Regions from separate parts of the Homo sapiens genome. Here all the other regions are linked to region 3. Evidence: promoter capture Hi-C in human tissues and cell types (Jung and others, 2019). All regions are on one chromosome and are shown on one strand. The core of a region is centred on a gene start or on the middle of the fragment in contact, and the rest is flanking DNA. Distances in the headings are between cores, read along the strand shown.

What was found. The method cuts DNA at HindIII sites, captures the fragments that hold promoters and counts their contacts. A contact is called where the count stands out against the background at its distance.
Region 1: a fragment that was not itself captured here is called in contact with the fragment with the promoter of SLC2A11 in region 3 in 1 of the 25 tissues and cell types used here (dorsolateral prefrontal cortex).
Region 2: a contact is called between the fragment with the promoter of BCR here and the fragment with the promoter of SLC2A11 in region 3, in 1 of the 25 tissues and cell types used here (adrenal gland).

Annotation. Positions count from the first base shown.
Region 1 is chr22:23,202,088-23,206,648 of GRCh38, reverse strand. All of the region lies in intron 1 of BCR (BCR activator of RhoGEF and GTPase), which reads right to left. Among named protein-coding and RNA genes, the nearest start is that of BCR, 24 kb to the right of the region's middle. The HindIII fragment of the contact is 4,691 bases long and covers 864-4,561 here.
Region 2 is chr22:23,178,756-23,183,139 of GRCh38, reverse strand. It overlaps BCR (BCR activator of RhoGEF and GTPase), which reads right to left and starts at 2,631. Exons shown (of 23, transcript NM_004327.4): 1 at 901-2,631. The coding sequence starts at 2,179. It also overlaps a transcript of RSPH14 not described here and the pseudogene BCRP8. RefSeq lists silencers at 2,101-2,180, 2,201-2,470, 2,541-2,780 and an enhancer at 2,901-3,711. The HindIII fragment of the contact is 16,176 bases long and covers 1-4,384 here.
Region 3 is chr22:23,855,655-23,860,118 of GRCh38, reverse strand. SLC2A11 (solute carrier family 2 member 11) reads right to left here and starts at 2,244. Exons shown (of 12, transcript NM_001024939.4): 1 at 2,090-2,244. The coding sequence starts at 2,119. The HindIII fragment of the contact is 17,543 bases long and covers 1-4,464 here.

The sequences.
Region 1 (4,561 bases), core at 1,960-4,459, 650 kb after region 3:
CTCAATGTGGAAGGGTTTTTTGGTAACTTTAATCAATGAATGACTATTTTCTTAACTTTTTTTTTTTTTTTTGAGACGGAGTCTCGCTATGTTGCCCAGGCTGGAGTGCAGTGGCACAATCTCGGCTCACTGCAAGCTCCGCCTCCTGGGTTCATGCCATTCTCCTGCCTCAGCCTCCCGAGTAGCTGGGATTACAGGTGCCCGCCACCACGCCCGGCTACTTTTTTTTTGTATTTTTAGTAGAGACATGGTTTCACCGTGTAAGCCAGGATGGTCCCGATCTCCTGACCTCGTGATCCGCCCACCTTGGCCTCCCAAAGTGCTGGGATTACAGGCGTGAGCCACCGCCCCCAGCCTATTTTCTTAGCTTTTTATCCTGGAAAATTTCAAACAAATACAAAAGTAAGAGCACAGCATCATGAATGCCCATTACCCCATCATTTGGCTTCAACGATTATTAGCTCATGGCCAGCCTTGTTTCAGGGAATATTCATTCAGCCCTGGGAAGCAGCAGGAAACAGGGAAGAGAAAGGGAAGTTAGAAACCAAGTGACCATCTCTCATCCAGCTTTTCCTCCTCCGGCAACTTCTCTGAGGAAAGAATCCTCATGGGGTTTGGAAGACTACCCTACCTGCCTCACAGGTTCTATAGGAGAGAAGCTCCTGTGAGCTCCTGAGCACAGATGTGAGACGCCCACACCTGGCTCTGTCATCGATTGCATCACCACCAGGCATTTGGAGGCAGCTCGCTGTGAAACACAGGTTGGCAAACTGCAGCCCACAGGCCAAATCCAGCCCACTGCCACCTGTTTTCATGTGACCTAGGCCTTAAGAATGCTCTTTATAGTTTCACATGCTCACATTCCAAATGGTTATGTAAGTATCCACAAAGTAGCATCGATTTTGCCTCTCAGCCACAAACATAAAATTAGTTACTATCTGGTCATTTAAGGAAAGTTCAGCCAATCCCAATACTGTAGAGTAAAGTAAAAAAAAAAAAAAAAAAATTATTGGTTCAAATCTTGGCTCTGCTGCCTGAGCTTCTGATCCTGCCTAGGCTTTGGCTGTCTGAGTATCCCCTTGGCGAGCAGCAACCACCAGCTCCTTGCAGAAATAGAGCAAGGCTCGGATCCTGGACGCTGAATGGGATCCCCTTACAAAGCACAAAGCCAAACCCAAGTGCAAAGTTCCAGTAAAGGGAGGGATCCTGTCTCTCCTGCAAGCCTTCCAGAGAGGGAACACCGGCAGATCCGTGAGAGGAGGAGAAGGAGGGTCTTCAGGAGTCAAAGTGCACCTTGAGACAGGCCCACCAAATGCAATATTCTGAAGGAAAGCGTGGCTTCCACTGAGGCATCTGTACCCCCACAGGAGTGACAACGTTCAGTGCCGGTATCCTTCCTGTCCTTATGCCCTCCAGACTGACCAGCCCATCTCCAGCACCGGCCAGCTCAGTACCAAGACAGCCCCTACTCCAACTGGCACTAAGAATGCTCAGGAAAGACTAACAGGCTTTCCCTGCAGGAAGGATACCTTGCCTTCTGATCCCAGGTGGGGCCTGCAAAAGGCTGGGAGGCTGTTGGGGAATTGGTCATCTGTAACAAAGGTAAATTATGGCCTCAAAGTACCTAATGTGCTCCTCCCACTATAGCACAGAAATAGGGGTGGCCACACACGCATGCCTGCTCATCTCAGTGCTGGCCTCAGCACATGCATTCCTGACCAAGCGGGGCTGTGCTCTGGCTGGCAAGACACCAGCTGGCACTACCAGGCCTCCTGCTGCCAACCACCTGCTTGCACATCATCACCTCCGCCCTGGCAGACACCCCCATGCTGCCGTCTCCCCCATCCACGCGGACGGCAGGGCCTCCCGCTGCCCACGCTCTGCACTTTGGCACGTTGCCCCAGATGAAACCTGCACGGCCTCTGAAATCTGTTCCAGTCCTGGTGGTGACCTGTAGACTGGCCAGTGGGCAGTAAGGGAGGACAACAAATCAGCCAGCAAAGCAGTGTCCTGGTTCCCATTAAGGGTGCACACAGAGGCCAATCCACCCCAATCCACATTACTGCAGGAAGCCAGACACAACCAGGATCCTACAGGAAGGCTGCTTTGGGACATCCACCAAGAGGGATTTCCAAATAATTTGCTGGGAACTCAGAGCAACATGACTTAATTTTATTTAGAATCACAAAACTAACGGATCTTAAAATAATTTTCTGGGAACTCAGAGCAACATGACTTAATTTTATTTAGAATCACAAAACTAACGGATCTTAAAAATGCTGCCATTCAGCTTCATCATTTACGGACAGGAATTCAGAGGCCCAAGGAGTCTACGTGATTCACTGGAGTCAGAGTGGCGGCCAAGGGCACAGCTAAGATGGGCAACGCAGAGCAAGAGGAGGAGCAAGCGTGGGTCCCAGCTCCATAATCCATGAGCTGGGATGGCTAAAACTGAACTGCTGGCTCCTAGTTGTGAGCGCTGGAAAATAAGACGGAACACCCTCCACGGTGCAGGACGACTAGTCAGTGCTGAAGAAGGGGCCATTCCTCTCCTTTCCTCCCCAAGCCCATGACACCATGCTGCCCTCCCTCCAAACGTGGTCTCACCATTATCTGCCCTCCTTCCAGCCAAGACCATCTGAACCCACTGCCTGCACAGGGAGGTGTTTGTCCTCCCGTCCCAGCCCAGCTTCTGCCAGCCAAGTGCAGCCATGCAAGTCCCTTTCCCTTTGTAGAAATCCTTTTCTGCCATGGCCTTCTGCTTCCTTGGAGCTTCAATGAAAGCCAAGCAGGAACTCCATGAGCCAGAATTAACTGGACAATGCTATCTGGCAGACCTAACTCACGATGCACAGAAGAGAAGCCAAAATGCTTTTCAGATTCAGTTACAAGTAGCCCACAACAGCAATAAACTAGCAAACTTCACAACAGACAAGGGGACAGTAAGTTCTTTCCCTACCAAGAACCACAGCGCTGACAAAGAACTGAGTGTCACACAGCCAGTGGCCTCAGGAAACTTCCTGAATGAGAGAGTGGACCAGTGTGACCCCAGCTCAGGGCTCCTCCCTATCAAAGCTGGACTGTTTCGAGGGTCATCAAGGAATCGGGAATTACCGTGGAGCCCAGTCTAGCACAGACTCCTCTGACCCAAAGCAAACCTTAATCTCAGATTCTGCTTCTCTGGAATGAAAATCCCACATCACAATTTTGGATTTTTGGAGGGTAAGGCCCCACACAGCTCAGACGTTTTAGCACCTGATGGAACTGCTTCAGTACAATCCTGTGAACAGAAGGAGGCAAGAAAAAAGTCAAAAAAGAGCAGGCAGTTAACCATAAAGCCAAGGGTAAACTGGGGCAGGATTTCTGGAAGGTGACCTGGCAGCAGCCATCAAGGGTCTTAAGACCATCCACCTCTCTGACCTGGTAAATCCAGTGACAGAGGCCCACCCCATCATGGGCAGAAACTCATATAAAAAGGTATTCACTTGGCCAAGTATGGTGGCTCACACCTGTAATCCCAGCACTTCAGGAGAAGCCAAGGCGGGCAGATCATTTGAGCCCAGGAGTTTAAGACCAGCCTGGGCAACACAGCAAGACCCTGTCTCTACAAAAAGAAAAAAAACGACAGATGAGTGTAGTGATGTGCATCTGTAGTCCCAGCTACTCAGGAGGCTGAGGTGGGAGGATCACAGGAGGTCAAGGCTGCAGTGAGCTCTTACTGCACCAGTGCAGATGCAGAGTGAGATGGCAGAGCGAGATCCTGTTTCAAAAACAAACAAAAAAAAAACCCCACAAAAAAATTCACTGAATGTAATTAATGCCACTGAACTGTACATTTAAAAATGGTTAAAATGACCCAAGTGCCCATCAATGAATGATAGATTAAATATATATATATATACACACACACACACACACACACACACAAACAATTGAATTATTACTCAAGCTTAAAAAGGAAGGGGTTCTGAAACACAGTAAAACACAGATGAACTTTGAGGACATGATGTGAAATAAGTCACAAAAAGACAAATACTGCATGATTCCACTTAAATAAAGTTTCTAGAGTCGTCAGATTCCTAGAGATAGAAAGTAGAATGGTGGTTACAGGGACTGGGCGTGGGGGAAGAAGCACTGTTCTTTAATGGGTGGAAATGAGTACAGATTTTCAGTTTTGCAAGGTGGAAAGAGTTCTGGAGATGGATGATAGTGATGGGTGCATGACAGGAATATACTTAACACCATTTAGCTGTGCGGCTAAAAATGGTAAATTTTATGTTATTTTACCATAATTTTAATTTTTAGTGGTTAAAATGTCAAATTTGTATATATATTTCACCATAATTTTTAAAAAGTAATAATGTAATATACCAAAACCCATTAAATTGGCTGCTTTAAAGGGTTGAATTGTATGGTACATGAATTACCTCAGTGAAGCTATTTAAAAAAAGAGAGAGAAGTTCACTGAAACATTATACTAACCAGCTGCATAAAGAACCACTCGAAATGTCCAACAAAAATTCATTAAAATTAGATAAATTAAACCATAACTCCACTACAA
Region 2 (4,384 bases), core at 1,382-3,881, 680 kb after region 3:
AGTTAGGCGTACAATCCCATAGTTTTAATCTTAGTGCTAGAATCTGACCACAGATTGGGAGCCCCAAATAAGCACCTGTGGGTGCTTATCCTTGGCAAGATGAGGCAGCAGGAGCACACTGGAGGGTCAGCAAATGGGGCTGGGTTACCACCATGGAGGAGCCTGGTGGTGAATAATCATGGGTGAAGCCTCCCATCAAAGCCAGGCAGATCAGAACGGGTGTGGCTCTGCTTCACCCCCAGATAAAATCTCCATGCAGTTGATTTTCGGTGGCCCACTGAGTCACAACTGCCTGTCGCCTCACTTCCTTCTAATTCCTATTCTCACCTGCTGTGACTTGTGTTCAGGACTGCTGGTTAGCAAGCAAACCTGACACTTCTATGGCCTAGGAGCAGCTAGCATATCTCAGGTTTCACAAACGTGTCATATAACCCCTCCAGAACAGGATCAGTGGGGTGGCGGGGAATGCCCAAGACATAAATCAGTCCCTGCTAACAGCATCCGATGTGGGCGCTAGAGATGACTCCGGCTTTTATGCCATCCTCACTGCCCGGCATGGAGAGAGCACATAGCAAGGAGGTTACTGCCTGAAGCATCTTCCTTCAACTCACAAGCTGTACTTCACAAACACATTGCTCTAGAACCAAAGGAACAAACCACCTCCCATCCCTCACAAGACCATCCTCAACCCAATTCCATTCCAAACACTAACAGTATGCATTCAGGAAGGAGGAGGGGATGGAGTTTGTTCGGGTGCAGGATCCGCGTGAACCACAAGTGCACCTGATACACTCAAAACTATCCACTCCTCCCTCCCAACTTCTGTTTTGTATCCCCTACTCGTCTATGGTTTTCCTCCCCCGTGCAGGTGTGCCCACGCACGTGGCGTGAGGAACTCACCTGCGTCTCCATGGAAGGCGCCCTCGCCATCGTTGGGCCAGATCTGCCCGGTCTTGCGGACGCCCACGATGGTGGCCTCGGACACGACAACCGGGCAGTGCCGGTGCCGCTTATGGCACTGCGGCGTGGGGGGACTGCTGCTGTCGAAGGACTGTTGCGAGTTCTGCGAGGGAGAGCGGCTTTTGTCCCGGAACATGCGGTAGGTGGTGGGGCTTGGGGACACGCGGCTGGACTGGCCAGAGGAGAAGTCCTCCTCGCTGGAGGTGAGGTTCTCATTGGAGCTGCAGTCCGGGGTATAGCCGCCTCCGCAATCCTCAAAACTCCGGGGGGAGTAGGACCTGCGGGGCCAGGTAAGGCGCTTCTCCTGCTCAGAGGTGCTCTGGCTGCGCAGGAGCGGGCCCTTGCCCTCCCCTTCCATCATGCCCCCGACGTAGATGCTCTGGTAGGGCTGGTACTCCAGGGGCGGCCAAGGGGGCCTGCTACCGCCATTGGCGTCGATCAGGTTGTCCTTCAGGAAGCGGGGGTTCAACTCGGCGTCCTCGTAGTCGCCGTCGACGCCGCAGCTGCTCTCCGAGGAGCGTCCCCGGTAAGGGGGCCTGGATGCATCCCCCACGCTCGAGCCCGCGCCGTGCTGGGACTTTTTGCGCTCCATCTGCATGGCCTGGCTGCCCAGGGAGCTGATGCGGTCCGACACCTCTTTGTCGTTGACCTTCACCAGGCCGCGCTCGTGGTGAAACTCGACGTTCACGTAGAAGGGCTTCTCGGCGTCCGCCCCGGGCTGGCCATGGCCCTTGCGGATCCGCTCGAAGTTGGACCTGAGCGCCGCCACGCTGGCGGGGGGTCCCCGGTCGTCCCGTTCCCCCGACGCGGCTGCCCCGGGCCTGCGGGCGGTCCCGGGCCTGGCCTTACCCGGAGAACCCTCGCCGTCGGGCCGGGCCTCGGGCTCCTCGGCGGGCGGCGGGTCGGCTCCGTCGGCGGGCGCTGGCTGCGGGCGCGACGCGGACGCTCGGGGCTCGGAGGCGCCGTCGGGGGCCTGCGCCGCGCGCCGGAAGCCCCATCGCTGCCGGTCATAGCTCTTCTTTTCCTTGGCCAGCAACGTCTGCAGGTAGATCATGCGGAAGCGCTCCTGGTTCACCTCCTGCTCCAGGCGCCGAATGGAGGCCTTGCAGCGCTCCAGCTCCTGCTCGATGTCGCCCACTGAGCGCAGCTCCATGCGCGGGGGCTCTGAGTCCGGGAACTGCGCCTTCCACGCCTCCGCGAAGCCCACCGGGTCCACCATGGCGCGGCCGGCCTTACCTGCGCCGCCGGGCTGCGCGCGGGGCCCGTCTCAGCGGCGGCGCGGCGCCTCGCCAGCCCGGCCCCGGGCGCCGGGCGGCCCCCATGGCCCGCGCGGCGGCGGCGGCGGCGAACAATGCCCGCCCACTCCCTGGTGGCAGGTGAGGCGGAGCGGGGCGCTCGGCGCGCGGGGCGGGGCGCGCCGGGGGGAAGGGCGCGGGCTGCGCGCGCCGCTATTGTGTGCGGGGCTCCTCCGCACGGCGAGGCGCGGGCGCTGCTCTCCGCTCCGCCAGGCCGCCGCCAGACTCTGGCCACGGCCCGCGCGCTCCTCGCCTCTCGCTTCCGCACCGCCCCACAGCCCCGCCGCCGCCGTGCCGCCGCCGCCGCCGCCGCCTCCTCGGACGCTAAGCTCAGCCAGCCGGCTCTCGCCGCACTCCCGCCCGGCCCGCACTCTGCGCCGCAGGAAGGGGAGGGCCGGGGGGAGGTGGCCGCGGCGCGGATGACGGAGCCAGGCGGGCCTCTTAAAGGGGCCGCGCCGTGGGCACAGGGCGGGGGGGCCCCCTGGAGGCGGCTCCCCCATCGAGCCGCCACCCTCCCCCCGTCCCTGTGCCTTTTGGGAAACTGAGGCCCTAACAACAGCGAATTGGACTGTGCAACTCGCAGCCCAGGGGTCCCCCGTAAAAAAGACACCGGACTCCCTGGTCCATAAAGACCTTTCCAATACAGAGGTCTGGGCCAGTTCTGCAGTCCTGGAACAGGAACACTTGGCTCCCCTCCGGCCAGGAGGACTTCTCCGGCCAGTCCAGCCGCGTGTCCCCAAGCCCCACCACCTACCTCATGTTCCGGGACAAGAGCTGCTCTCTCTGGCAGAACTCGCAGCAGTCCTCCGACAGAAGCAACCTCCCCCCTCTGCCCCTACCACGCCGCAGTGCCATAAGCGTCACCGGCACTGCCCAGTCGTCGTGTCAGAGGCCACCATCGTGGGCATCTGCAAGACCAGGCAGATCTGGCCCAACGATGCGGAGGGCACCTTCCATGGAGACGCAGGTAAGTTCCTCACACCTCACAGCCTGGCCTCTCACCAGCCTCAGGGCTGGGCACACTAGGGACCACCCAGCAGGGCCCAACTCACAGAGAGGCCAGGACCAGGCAGGTCACCCCGCAAGGCAGGGAGGGCCAGGCTGAGTAACCAATGCCAGCACCCTTGTTTCAGCGGGCCTCTCACGTTGTGGATCTGCTGTGGGTGGCTGCCACACGGGTTTGTCACAGCAGGACCACATGATGGATGATAAATAGGGATTTCTCCCTCAGGTCACTCAATACCCACACCTGCCTTCCTGTGTGCTGAGCCATGTGTTTGTCCCCTGGCCTCTCTTGAGCTCCAGAGGTCAATGTAGTTTTTCCAGGACGACCTGACTCAGAACTTCCCTGATTAGCCTCCCTCTAAGGGGGCGGCCAACCTGCACTGAGGTTCACAGGGCTGGGTGGAAGACAGCCCAGAGCAGGGAGTGAAACAAAACCTTTGATGGTTCTCTGGGGACACAGAGATCTGAGACACAGTGGAGAGCACTCTGCAGGGACTCTGATGGGCACAAACTGAAAATACCCAAACCAGCCCGCTGGGTTGGGGGAAAAGGAAACAGGATTTGGCAAATGAATTACTGGGCTTGAGTCCTGACCACCTCTCCCTCTCTGCCTCAGTTTCCTTGAAGTGAGAAGCACATCTGCCTCCAAGTGCTGTTGTCCCTGTGTGGATGTTAGGGATTATCATGCCCTCCTCCCAATGCCAGCGTCATCTGGAGCAGATACTTTGAAGTCCAATCTAAAGGACTGAGCCCAGGCTAGTAGCCAGGCCAGCCCTGCTTGGGTTCAGGGCTTCCTGCCGACTCCTGGCTGTGTGACCTCAGCAGTGTCTCTCTCAGCCTCTCTGAGCCTCAGTTTTGTCATCTGTTCTTCATGTGCCCAATCCTGCTTCCTTTTCCCCTGACCCGGCAGGCTGGTTTGGGTATTTTAATTTTGTGCTCATCAGACTCCCTGCTCTTTGCCCTGTCTCAGATTTCCAGGCTTCCCTAGAGAACCATCAAAGATTTTGTTTCACTCCCTGCTCTGAGCTGTCCTGTCTTCCACCCAGTCCTGTGGGCCACGGTACAAAATGTTGAGAGCATCCTGCATAAAATGCCCAGATGGGGCAAACATAAAACACAACCTG
Region 3 (4,464 bases), core at 995-3,494:
TTACAAAATGACACGTTTGTTAAGATTTTTGAAAATTCAGTATATACTGAAAGTTCTCCACTCCTCCAAAGGCACAACAATTAACTCCTTCCCTCAGGTATTTTCCTAGATATTTGCAAAGTAGTTGACTTTACAAAAATTGAATCGTTGATATCTTCCCCCAAAAAATACTGCCTTTCTTGTTCTGGCAAATTGTTCTGTAGAATTAAATGTATTATTTTTGAAAACTTTGATACAATTTTCATGACAGAAGGATGTTTGGCTAAGGTTTTCTGAAGTTTCCAGAACCTACGGACTATTTATTCATTTATTAGTCAAATACTGAGTGTTGGCCGGATGTCGTGGCCCACACCTGCAATCCCTGCACTTTGGGAGGCCGAGGTGGGCAGACCACTTGAGGTCAGGAGTTCGAGACCAGCCTGGCCAACATGGTAAAACCCTGTCTCTACTAAAAATACAAAAATTAGCCGGGCTTGGTGGTGGGCACCTGTAATCCCAGCTACTCAGAAGGCTGAGGCAGAATTGCTTGAATCCGGGAGGGAGGCGGAGGTTGCAGTAAGCCCAGATCGCGCCACTGCCCTCCTGCCTGGGCAACAGAGTGAGACTCCATCTCAAAAAAAAAAAAATGCTGAATGTTTATCTCAGCCAGGAAGTGTGCTGGGGGGCAAGATACAGCTGGGAAAGAGACAGCTGTGCTTTCACCATTCAGTGAGATACTGCACTGGAGGCTGGGGGAGCAGAGGAAGTGGCTCTGGAGGGCAGAATCCTGCTGAAGGCCTTGCCATAGGTCTGGAGACAGGTTGGTGACAGGGGCCCTGGCTGCCCATAGTTCCAATAAGGCCTAAGTAACTTTCTCTAAGGCTGGAAGCCTTAGGAAGAAGCCAGGTGAGAAACCTGGCATCTGGTCCCATTGAGGCCAAATTACAGCTCCACGGGGGCCGCATGGAAGTGAGAGCTCCCTTAAGACAGCAGATGTGAAGGAAGCAGCGAACACAGTGCTTGATGGCAGCTGAGCTCATGTAGCAGGAGATATTGACAGGTCTCTAAGACTACAGGAAATCGTTGAATTCAATGAGATCATGCATGGAGATTGCCTATACCGTGCCTGGTCATGGTAAGCATTCAGACATTAGCTACGATAGGGACCATTAATTCAGCAAACAAAGATTTATTGCCTCCCTATTATGGTCAATAATCCTACTGTTCTAGGTGTTGGGATACAGCAGTGAACAACAGACAAAATCCATGAGCTGTCAGAGCTTTCCTTCCAGCAGAGAAAGACAAGCAATCGCAAAATGAACAAGCAAAATATATAGTACATCAGCTGGTGCTACAGAGACTTAAAGCAGTGAAGGGGCGTAGGAAGTGTTTGGACCAGGTGGTGCTATTTTATTTTATTTTATTTTATTTTTATTTTTTAGAGACAAGGTCTCGCTACGTCGCCCACGCTGGAGTGCAGTGGTGAGATCCTATTAGATCCCTGCAGCTTCGAACTCCTGGGCGATCCTCCCACCTTAGTTGGTGCTATTTTAAATAAGGCTGTCAAGGAATACAAGTGCAAATCAAGACAAAGGAGGTGAGGGAATGTGCCATGCAAATACCTAAAGAAATCAGTCCAGATTGGGAAGGAACCCCTAGAAGCGGTGGGCAGTGCAGTGCGGGCGCTCTCCTCTGGCTGCGCCCTTTCCCTCTGTGAGGCAGGACGTCAGGTCAGAGCTGAGGGAGCATGAGGAGGAAAGAGGCGGGGGTGGGAAACAGTCTCGGGAGGGGGCGAGCAGTCAGGATTGCAGCGCTCGGAGGGCTTACTGCCTCTGAGGTCAGGGCTGATCGGCAGAGGATTTAGCATCTCTGGGGGCTGGGATGCCAGGGTCCAGCAACCTTGCTCTGGCCCACAGGCCGACCCTGGGCGTAAACACCTGCCTATGCACATCTGAGCCTAGCACCTAACGCCACTGTACATACAAGCACGATATTTTTGAACATTTGACGACTTAGTTAAGCCTCCCAGGTGGCTGCACCTGCGCAGTTCACTCAGGTCCGCAATCCCTCATCTGAAACGCCTGGTCTGGGCAAGTATGAGAATTCATACCATTCTAGATCGCAGGAGGGCGTGGAGCATTCGAAAGAGGGGCCTGAGCGGAGGTCTTGCTGTCCCAGGGAGACCCCGGCTGCCATTAGCAAGCGGTGAGCCGGCAGCCTGTGCGCGGAGGGAAGGGCAGCGCGCAGCGCCCAGTGGTGAAAGAGGCGCTAGCGCACGCGCAGTGAGCGTTTGAGAGGAGCAAACCCGTCGAGACGAAGCTGTAGCGCAAGCGCAGTGGGTATTGAGAGCGGCCGCACCAGCTGAGGGTTCGCGCAACGCTAAACGATGGCCGGGACTAAGGCCTGAGACTCAAGCTCAGGCGCAGTGAAGCGCAGAGCCGCTAGAGTGTCGCGGAGGGCGCCTGAGGCGCATGCGCGGACTCAGCGTTTTTAAGAAGGGCTGGGGGTGCTGGGGAGTTCGCCCCAGCGTGTTGGGGGGGAGTCGCCGCCGCGGGGGGGGGGTTTGGGGTCACCGCCGCGGGGTTTGTCGCCGCCGCTGGGAGCTCACCTGCGTCCGAGGCCGTAAGGACGGCTCCAGTTCATCCTCCATCCGCCTCTGCCGCAGCACTGAGGCTGAAAAGCCGCTCACTCCTTACTCGGCTAAGCCCCAAGCTCATCTCTGCAGGCCGGAAGGGAGCTCTGGTCCAAGGTCATCTCGGCCAAGCCCCTGCATTCGCCCTCGCAAGTGCCAGCAAGCGACTCTGGTCGCCGCGCTCCCAAGTCCTCCCCCGAAATTCCGGCTCTGGCCCCTCGTCCCCCTCCTTTGCTACAGTCTCTGGACTAAATGTCTGCGGGTCTCTGTCTCTCGCTGGTCTGACCTCAGCCGCAACCCTGCGCGATTCCCTGCGCCGGTCGCCACTGCCGGCCGCCAGAACCTCGGAGGCCACTGCCCCTGGGCGTTCTCCGGAGGGCCAAGCCCTTGGTTGTGCACATCTATGCACGCCCCACCTACACCCCCCCCCCCCCACACACACACACTTTGGTTCAGGTATCCCCGACCTTTCCCCAGAGGACGGGAAAATTAGGAAAGACCGAAAGATAGACCCACCAGTCTTCGGAGCGCTCTCATCTGTGCGTCCTGGGCAGAGCGAGAGACTTGGCGGAATGCGGGTAGGAGAACCGGTCTCGGGTTGCCGCCAGGGGATCCATTGCGTGAGAGGCAGGTCCGACTTATGCTGGGGGCACTTGGAGTTGAGGAACCACAGAGTCCACTGAACCGGATTAATCTTTTATCCCTCAGGGCTTCTCAGGCCCTGCATGGAGGAATCCAGGAGCTGGACAAAGACCAACTGAAACTAGACTTGCCAAAGATGCTATTTGTGGTCACAGAAACATAGAGCTGGACATGACCTTAAGAAGTCACCTGAGCAGACACTGTGATGGGCACTGTAGTAGCTCTATTGCTCAGACTTGGTTTTTGTTTGACTTTTGCTGCTCTGAACTTTAATTCCTAAAAACACTGCATTTTTAAGGAAAAACACAAAATATTAGCAGTTATAATAAATAGGTATTTTATTGCATGCTTTTCGTGCATCTATTAAGATGATCATATGGGTATTCTCCTTTAATCTGTTAATGAGATCAGTTACATCAATAAACTTTCTAATGGTAAACCATTCTTGAATTCTTGGGGTAGACGCAACTTGGTCATAATATTATTGTTATTAATACATTGTTAGTTTCAACTGCTGATATTTTATTTTGATAGGTTAATTTTTTTCTTTTTTTTTTTTAATTTATTTATTTTTTTTTTATTGATCATTCTTGGGTGTTTCTCGCAGAGGGGGATTTGGCAGGGTCATAGGACAATAGTGGAGGGAAGGTCAGCAGATAAACAAGTGAACAAAGGTCTCTGGTTTTCCTAGGCAGAGGACCCTGCGGCCTTGGCCTTCCGCAGTGTTTGTGTCCCTGGGTACTTAAGATTAGGGAGTGGTGATGACTCTTAACGAGCATGCTGCCTTCAAGCATCTGTTTAACAAAGCACATCTTGCACCGCCCTTAATCCATTTAACCCTGAGTGGACACAGCACATGTTTCAGAGAGCACAGGGTTGGGGATAAGGTCACAGATCAACAGGATCCCAAGGCAGAAGAATTTTTCTTAGTACAGAACAAAATGAAAAGTCTCCCATGTCTACTTCTATCCACAGAGACCCGGCAACCATCCGATTTCTCAATTTTTTCCCCACCCTTCCCGCCTTTCTATTCCACAAAACCGCCATTGTCATCATGGCCCATCCCCAATGAGCCGCTGGGCACACCTCCCAGACGGGGTCGTGGCCGGGCAGAGGGGCTCCTCACTTCCCAGTAGGGGCGGCCGGGCAGAAGCGCCCCTCACCTCCCGGATGGGGCGGCTGGCCGGGCGGGGGGCTGACCCCCCCACCAC